2 separate regions of the Homo sapiens genome follow, and region 1 is linked to region 2. The links are contacts of gene promoters, found by promoter capture Hi-C in human tissues and cell types (Jung and others, 2019). All regions are on one chromosome and are shown on one strand. Each heading gives the region's core, a stretch centred on a gene start or on the middle of the fragment in contact. The rest is flanking DNA. Distances are from core to core; before and after follow the strand shown.

The links. Contacts are between HindIII fragments. The study calls those that stand out against the background at their distance.
Region 1: a contact is called between a fragment that was not itself captured here and the fragment with the promoter of EFTUD2 in region 2, in 1 of the 25 tissues and cell types used here (spleen).

The regions. Positions count from the first base shown.
Region 1 is chr17:45,206,370-45,209,069 of GRCh38, reverse strand. The region is part of intron 2 of FMNL1-DT (FMNL1 divergent transcript); the gene reads left to right. Among named protein-coding and RNA genes, the nearest start is that of FMNL1-DT, 14 kb to the left of the region's middle. The HindIII fragment of the contact is 8,026 bases long and covers 1-2,700 here.
Region 2 is chr17:44,897,997-44,900,696 of GRCh38, reverse strand. EFTUD2 (elongation factor Tu GTP binding domain containing 2) reads left to right here and starts at 1,252. Exons shown (of 28, transcript NM_004247.4): 1 at 1,252-1,328. DNAAF19 (dynein axonemal assembly factor 19) reads right to left here and starts at 968. Exons shown (of 4, transcript NM_213607.3): 1 at 838-968. The HindIII fragment of the contact is 11,041 bases long and covers 1-1,710 here.

The DNA.
Region 1 (2,700 bases), core at 16-2,515, 310 kb before region 2:
GCCATGTATAAAGTTCTGAGCACACAGTGCCCTAAAAATGGAAGTGAAGGTGAGGATGATGAATATGCAGCAATTGCTTGGAGGGAAGGTATCTGCAGGACAAACTTGGCAATAGTCAGTTCTGAGGTCAAAGGAGGAGGGGTAAAGACTAAAGGACTGGCCAGTTGTGGTGGCTCACATCTGTAATCCCAGCACTTTGGGAGTCTGAGGTGGGAGGACGGCTTGAGTCCAGGAGTTAGAGACCAGCCTGAGCAACATAGCAAGACCTTGTCTCTACTAAAAATTAAAAAAAAAATTAGCTAGGCATGGTAGCACAAACCCAAAGTCTCAGCTACTCAGGAGGCCAAGGCAGGAGGATTACTTGAGCCTAGGAGTACGAGGACAGCCTGAGCAACACAGTGGAACCCCGTCTCTACAAAGTGTTTAAAAAGGCCTGGCGCGGTGGCTCATGCCCATAATCCCAACACTTTGGGAAGCCGAGGCAGGCAGATCATGAGGTCAGGAGTTCAAGACCAGACTAACCAATATGGTGAAACCCCATCGCTACTAAAAATACAAAAATTAGCCAGCTGTGGTGCTGTGCACCTGTAGTCACAGCTACTCGGGAGGCTGAGGCAGGAGAATCAGCCGAGAGGCGGAGGTTGCAGTGAGCCAAGATCGCGCCACTGCACTCCAGCCTGGGTGACAGAGTGACACTCCATCTCAAAAAAAAAAAAAAAAAAGTTTAAAAATTAGCCAGGTGTAGTGGTGCACACCTGTAGTCCCAGCTACTGAGGAGGCTAAGGCAGGAGGATTGCTTGAGCCAGGCAAGTAGAGGGTGAAGTGAGCCATGATTGTGCCACTGCACTGCCTGGCCAACAGAGCCAGACCCTGTCTCAAAAAAAACAAAAATTCAAGGGCTGAGTTTGAGAGTGATCACTGAGTCTGGGAAGAGAGAATCCAAAGGATGAGATACAAACAGAAACCCTGTGAACTGGAGATTATTCTAGTTTCATTTTACATTAGTGGCCACTGAGGCTGCTAATGATGAAGTAACTCAAGTCACCCACTTATAAAGTGGCAGAGCCAGGATTCAAACCCACGTTAGCCCTCTTGCTTTTCATGGTGCCTCTGAGGGGACAGCTGAGGGAGGCCAGGAGGAGTTTCTTGGTTAACAACAAATGTTTATATTTTTACTTATTTTATTTATTTATTTATTTGAGATGGAGTGTCTCAAAAAATTTTTTTTGTATTTTTTTTTTTTGTATTTTTAGTAGAGACGGGATTTCACCGTGTTAGCCAGGATGGTCTCAATCTCCTGACCTCGTGATCCACCCGCCTCGGCCTCCCAAAGTGCTGGGATTACAGGTGTGAGCCACTGCACCTGGCCTATTTATTTATTTATTTTGAGGCAAAGTCTTGCTCCATTGCCCAGGCTGGAGTGCAGTGACAAAATCATGGCTCACTACAGACTCCACCTCCTGGGTTTAGGCAATCCTCCTACCACAGCCTCCTGAGTTGCTGGGACTACAGGCGTGCACCACCATGCGCAGCTAATTTTTTTTTTTTTTAATTATTTGTAGAAACAGATTCTCCCTGTGCTGCCTAGGCTGGTCTCCAACTCCTGGGCCTCAAGTGATCCTCCCACCTCAGCCTCCAAAGTGCTAGGATTACAGACATGAGCCACCACACTTAGCCTCCAAATCTTAATCTTAGATTAAGTGTCTTAATCTTCGAAACGGTCTGCCAAGGAGACATTTGGTCACTTCTCTCACTCTGGCTGTGTCTGACTGACCTGAGAGGCTACAAACCACAGCTGTCACCTTTACTGGTCTGTCAGTCTGTCTGAAACAGCTCTGACAACCCAGCCAGAAGAGGAAAATGTAGTCATTTCTTTCAAGGCCCTAAGTCTTACAAAAAGTAGGGCAGATGGGGACCGGCTGCAGTGGCTCCTGCCTGTAATCCTACTGCTTTGGGAGCCCAAGGCGGAGAATCACTTGAGACCAGGAGTTCAAGATGAGCCTGGGCAACATAGTGAGACCCTGTCTCTATAGAAACTAAAAAATTAGCAAGGCATGGTGGTGTGTGCCTGTTGTCCCAGCTACTCAAGAGGCTGAGGTGGGAATATCGCTTGAGCCTAGGAGCTCAAGGCTGCAGTCAGCCGTGATCAAACCACTGCACTCCAGCCTGGGTGACAGAGTGAGAAATTGTCTCAAAAAATAAACAGGCTAGGTGTGGTGACTCATGCCTGTAATCCCAGCATTTTGGGAGGCTGAGGCAGGTGGATCATTTGAGGTCAGTAGTTCAAGACCAGCCTGGCCAAAATAGTGAAACCCCACCTCTACTAAAAATAAAAAATTAGCCAGAAGTGGTGGCAGGTGCCTATAATCCCAGCTACTCGGGAGGTTGAGGCAGGTGAATCACTGGAACCAGGGAGGTGGAGGTTGCAGTGAGCCAAGATCATGCCACTGTGCTCCAGCCTGGGCGACAGAGCGAGACTCCATCTTAAAAAAGCAAACAAACAAACTAGGGCAGGTGAGGTCCCATCCAATCTGCAGCCAAATAGACTGGGACTCACAGCTGCCCAGAGCTGCTGAGCTAAGAGGAGAGAGTGGACTAAGGGGGCCACCTAGAAAACCTAGGTCCATTCTTGGGGCTAGGGGAGCACAACCTGGCATCTGGTACACAGTAGGTGTTTAATGAATGCTAACAGAAGGAACA
Region 2 (2,700 bases), core at 3-2,502:
GCTTCAGTCGAGGAGGCATTGGGATCTCAGAATTCAGTTTCTTCACTCTTCCCCCATAGGATTGTTCTACAGCAAGTCGTTTCGACAGGGGACCTCACACAAAGGCAGAACTCTTGTTAGTTACCCTTGAGCTCGGGGATAAAGTTTCATTCTTCATTGAATGTCTTTAATGAGGAAGGAGACTTTCACCCAAACCAGATGCAATGACTGAGCAGGAAATCAAGTAGAAGGGGCAAAGGAAGGAGCTCAATGACCCCATCCCCAAATCCCTCTGTCCAGCCCAGGGCTGGAACAGAGGTCCCTAGGTACCTGGGCAATGCCTTTAGTTCTATCACTGTACTTCTGTAGTTTCTGCATATCTGAGGCTGACTGATCATTTCTACAGAGATATTCTTTTCTTTTTTTTTTTTTCTGGCTCTGTTGCCCAGGCTGGAGTGCAGTGGCGCGATCTTGGCTCATTGCAACCTCTGCCTCCGGGGTTCAAGCAATTTTCGATCCTGACCTCAAGTAATCCGCGCGCCTCGGCCTCCCAAAGTGCTGGGATTACAGGCGTGAGCCACTGCAGAGAGATTCTCTACGTGGGTTCTAGTCGTGGCTCTGGCATTTACTTGTGGGACCTCTCTGAACTGCAAACTCCTAGTGAGTTGAGCTAGATTTTGTGGCGGGGTCATCACCAACAGCCCTAGCGCAAGGAAGCAGGAAGTCCCCAACCAATCCCATAGCCACCCTACCCCAACGTAGGGAATCTGAACGCCAAGAAGGGGCTGGGGTGGCCAGTAACCGAAATCAGGTGTCCAGTTCTCAGCCCTCCCCAGGCATTTAATACATAGAACTAACCCTTCCGTCCCCTTACTCAGCCTCCCGGACCTTCACCCCAGCAGTCCCGGCCTTGGTCCCCTTGCTTTCTTTGGGGATCCCCTGATAAACCAGAACAGGAGGGCAACCCCGCGCAGACCACGCCCGCAGCTGTGGTTGCCTAGCAACTGCGCTAACAGCCTGACCACGTGATCTGCCCGAAGGCCCCTCCCCCCATTTTCAGGGTGGTCCCGAGGCGCCTGATCAGATTCGTTCATCCTCAGCTCTCACCCTCTTTGGAGCAGCCCACGTCTTGGGCTACTCGTCTTGGGGACCCGCTACTCCGCCTTGCCAGTCCGCGGCGGGCATACCTCGGAACTGGTCCTCAGGCAGAGGGTTGTCCTCCCGGGCAGAAAGGCGACAGCGGCGTCTGCGGGGTCCTTCCTGGCGGCGGGCGCAGGCGTTTCCTCGGCGTGGGGCGGAAGCACGATCTCCGGCAGCGGCCTGGGAACTCTTAGCTGAGCAGGCGAGAGGTAAGTTGAAGCGGGTCAGCGGCACGGAAGGGTTGCTCCAGGTGGGATAGGAAATTAAAAAGCGTCAGATCTGGAAGGGGCCTTATATGCTATTGGCCCCTTTCGCTTTACGGATCGGTAAATTGAGGCCTGGAGCGGGAAAAAGAATGGAAGACCCTGTCGTCCTCGTGCCTTCCCAAGGCTTCCGAAGCGCGCACACACGCACACACCTCGATTTCGGGGCTGCCTCTATAGCCTCAGTCCGTAAAATCGTATCGCTAGGTAGGAGTGGTGCTCTAACTGTCCAGTCCCCTCGCTCACTTCCTCTTCTATCCGTGCCGCTTTCAGCCGTTCTTTGCCAAGTTCCCTCCGAAGTCCTCTGAGCTCCTGCATTGTAGCGGGAAGCGGCAGTGAGGTTTGTTACCATGAGTCGCTAGTTTTGTGTAACTGTGGGCAAATCAGCTATATTCTGTGTACCTTGTTAGAGTCATTCATTAGTTCAGTAAATACTTATTGAGGGCTTAGTCTATGCTAGGCACAGTACTAAGTGAACAAAGTCTTTGCTTCAATTGTAGTTGGGGAAATGAACAGTAAACAACTAGATACAAGTCAGCTAGTGATAAATGTATAACATTTGTGAATAGCAATAAAACAGTGAAAGTGGGAAGTTGGAGAGTATGTATGGGGGACTTTTTAGAGTGACAGAGAAGATGACATTTTAGTGGAGACTTGATTGAAATAAAGGAACAAGGTGAAAAATATCAAAGGGGAGAGCGTTTTGGACAAAGAGAAAGGCAAGTGCAGTGGCCCTGAGGCAGAAATGAGCTTGGCTTGTTCCATGAACAGCTTTCTATAACAGTTTCTTCAATCGGCCGGGCGCGGTGGCTCACGCCTGTAATCCCAGCACTTTGGGAGAAAGACGCGGGCGGATCACCTGAGGTCAGGAGTTCGAGACCAGCCTGGCCAACATGGTGAAAACCCATCTCTACTAAGAATACAAAAAAATTAGCCAGGCGTAGTGGTGCACTCCTGTAGTCCCAACTACTCGGGAGGCTGAGGCAGGAGAATCGCTTGAAACCAGGAGGCGGAGGTTGCAGTGAACTGAGATCGTGCCGTTGTACTCCAGCCTGGGCAACAAGAGCAAAACTCTGTCTCAAAAAATATATATAAAATAAATAAATAATTTCTTCAATCCCTTGACTGGGGTCTTGGGAGAATGAGATAAGCATAAATGCGATAGTAGCTTTTTAGAAGTAAAAAGAATATGCATGTGAAAGTTTCCATAATAATTTACATTTAATTATTGGTCCTTGGAGCTCCAATTCTCTCTCTACATTCAGCACCCAGCAGGTGGCATTGAGGGAGTTGGAGGTATCAGTCTAATCCAAGAAAT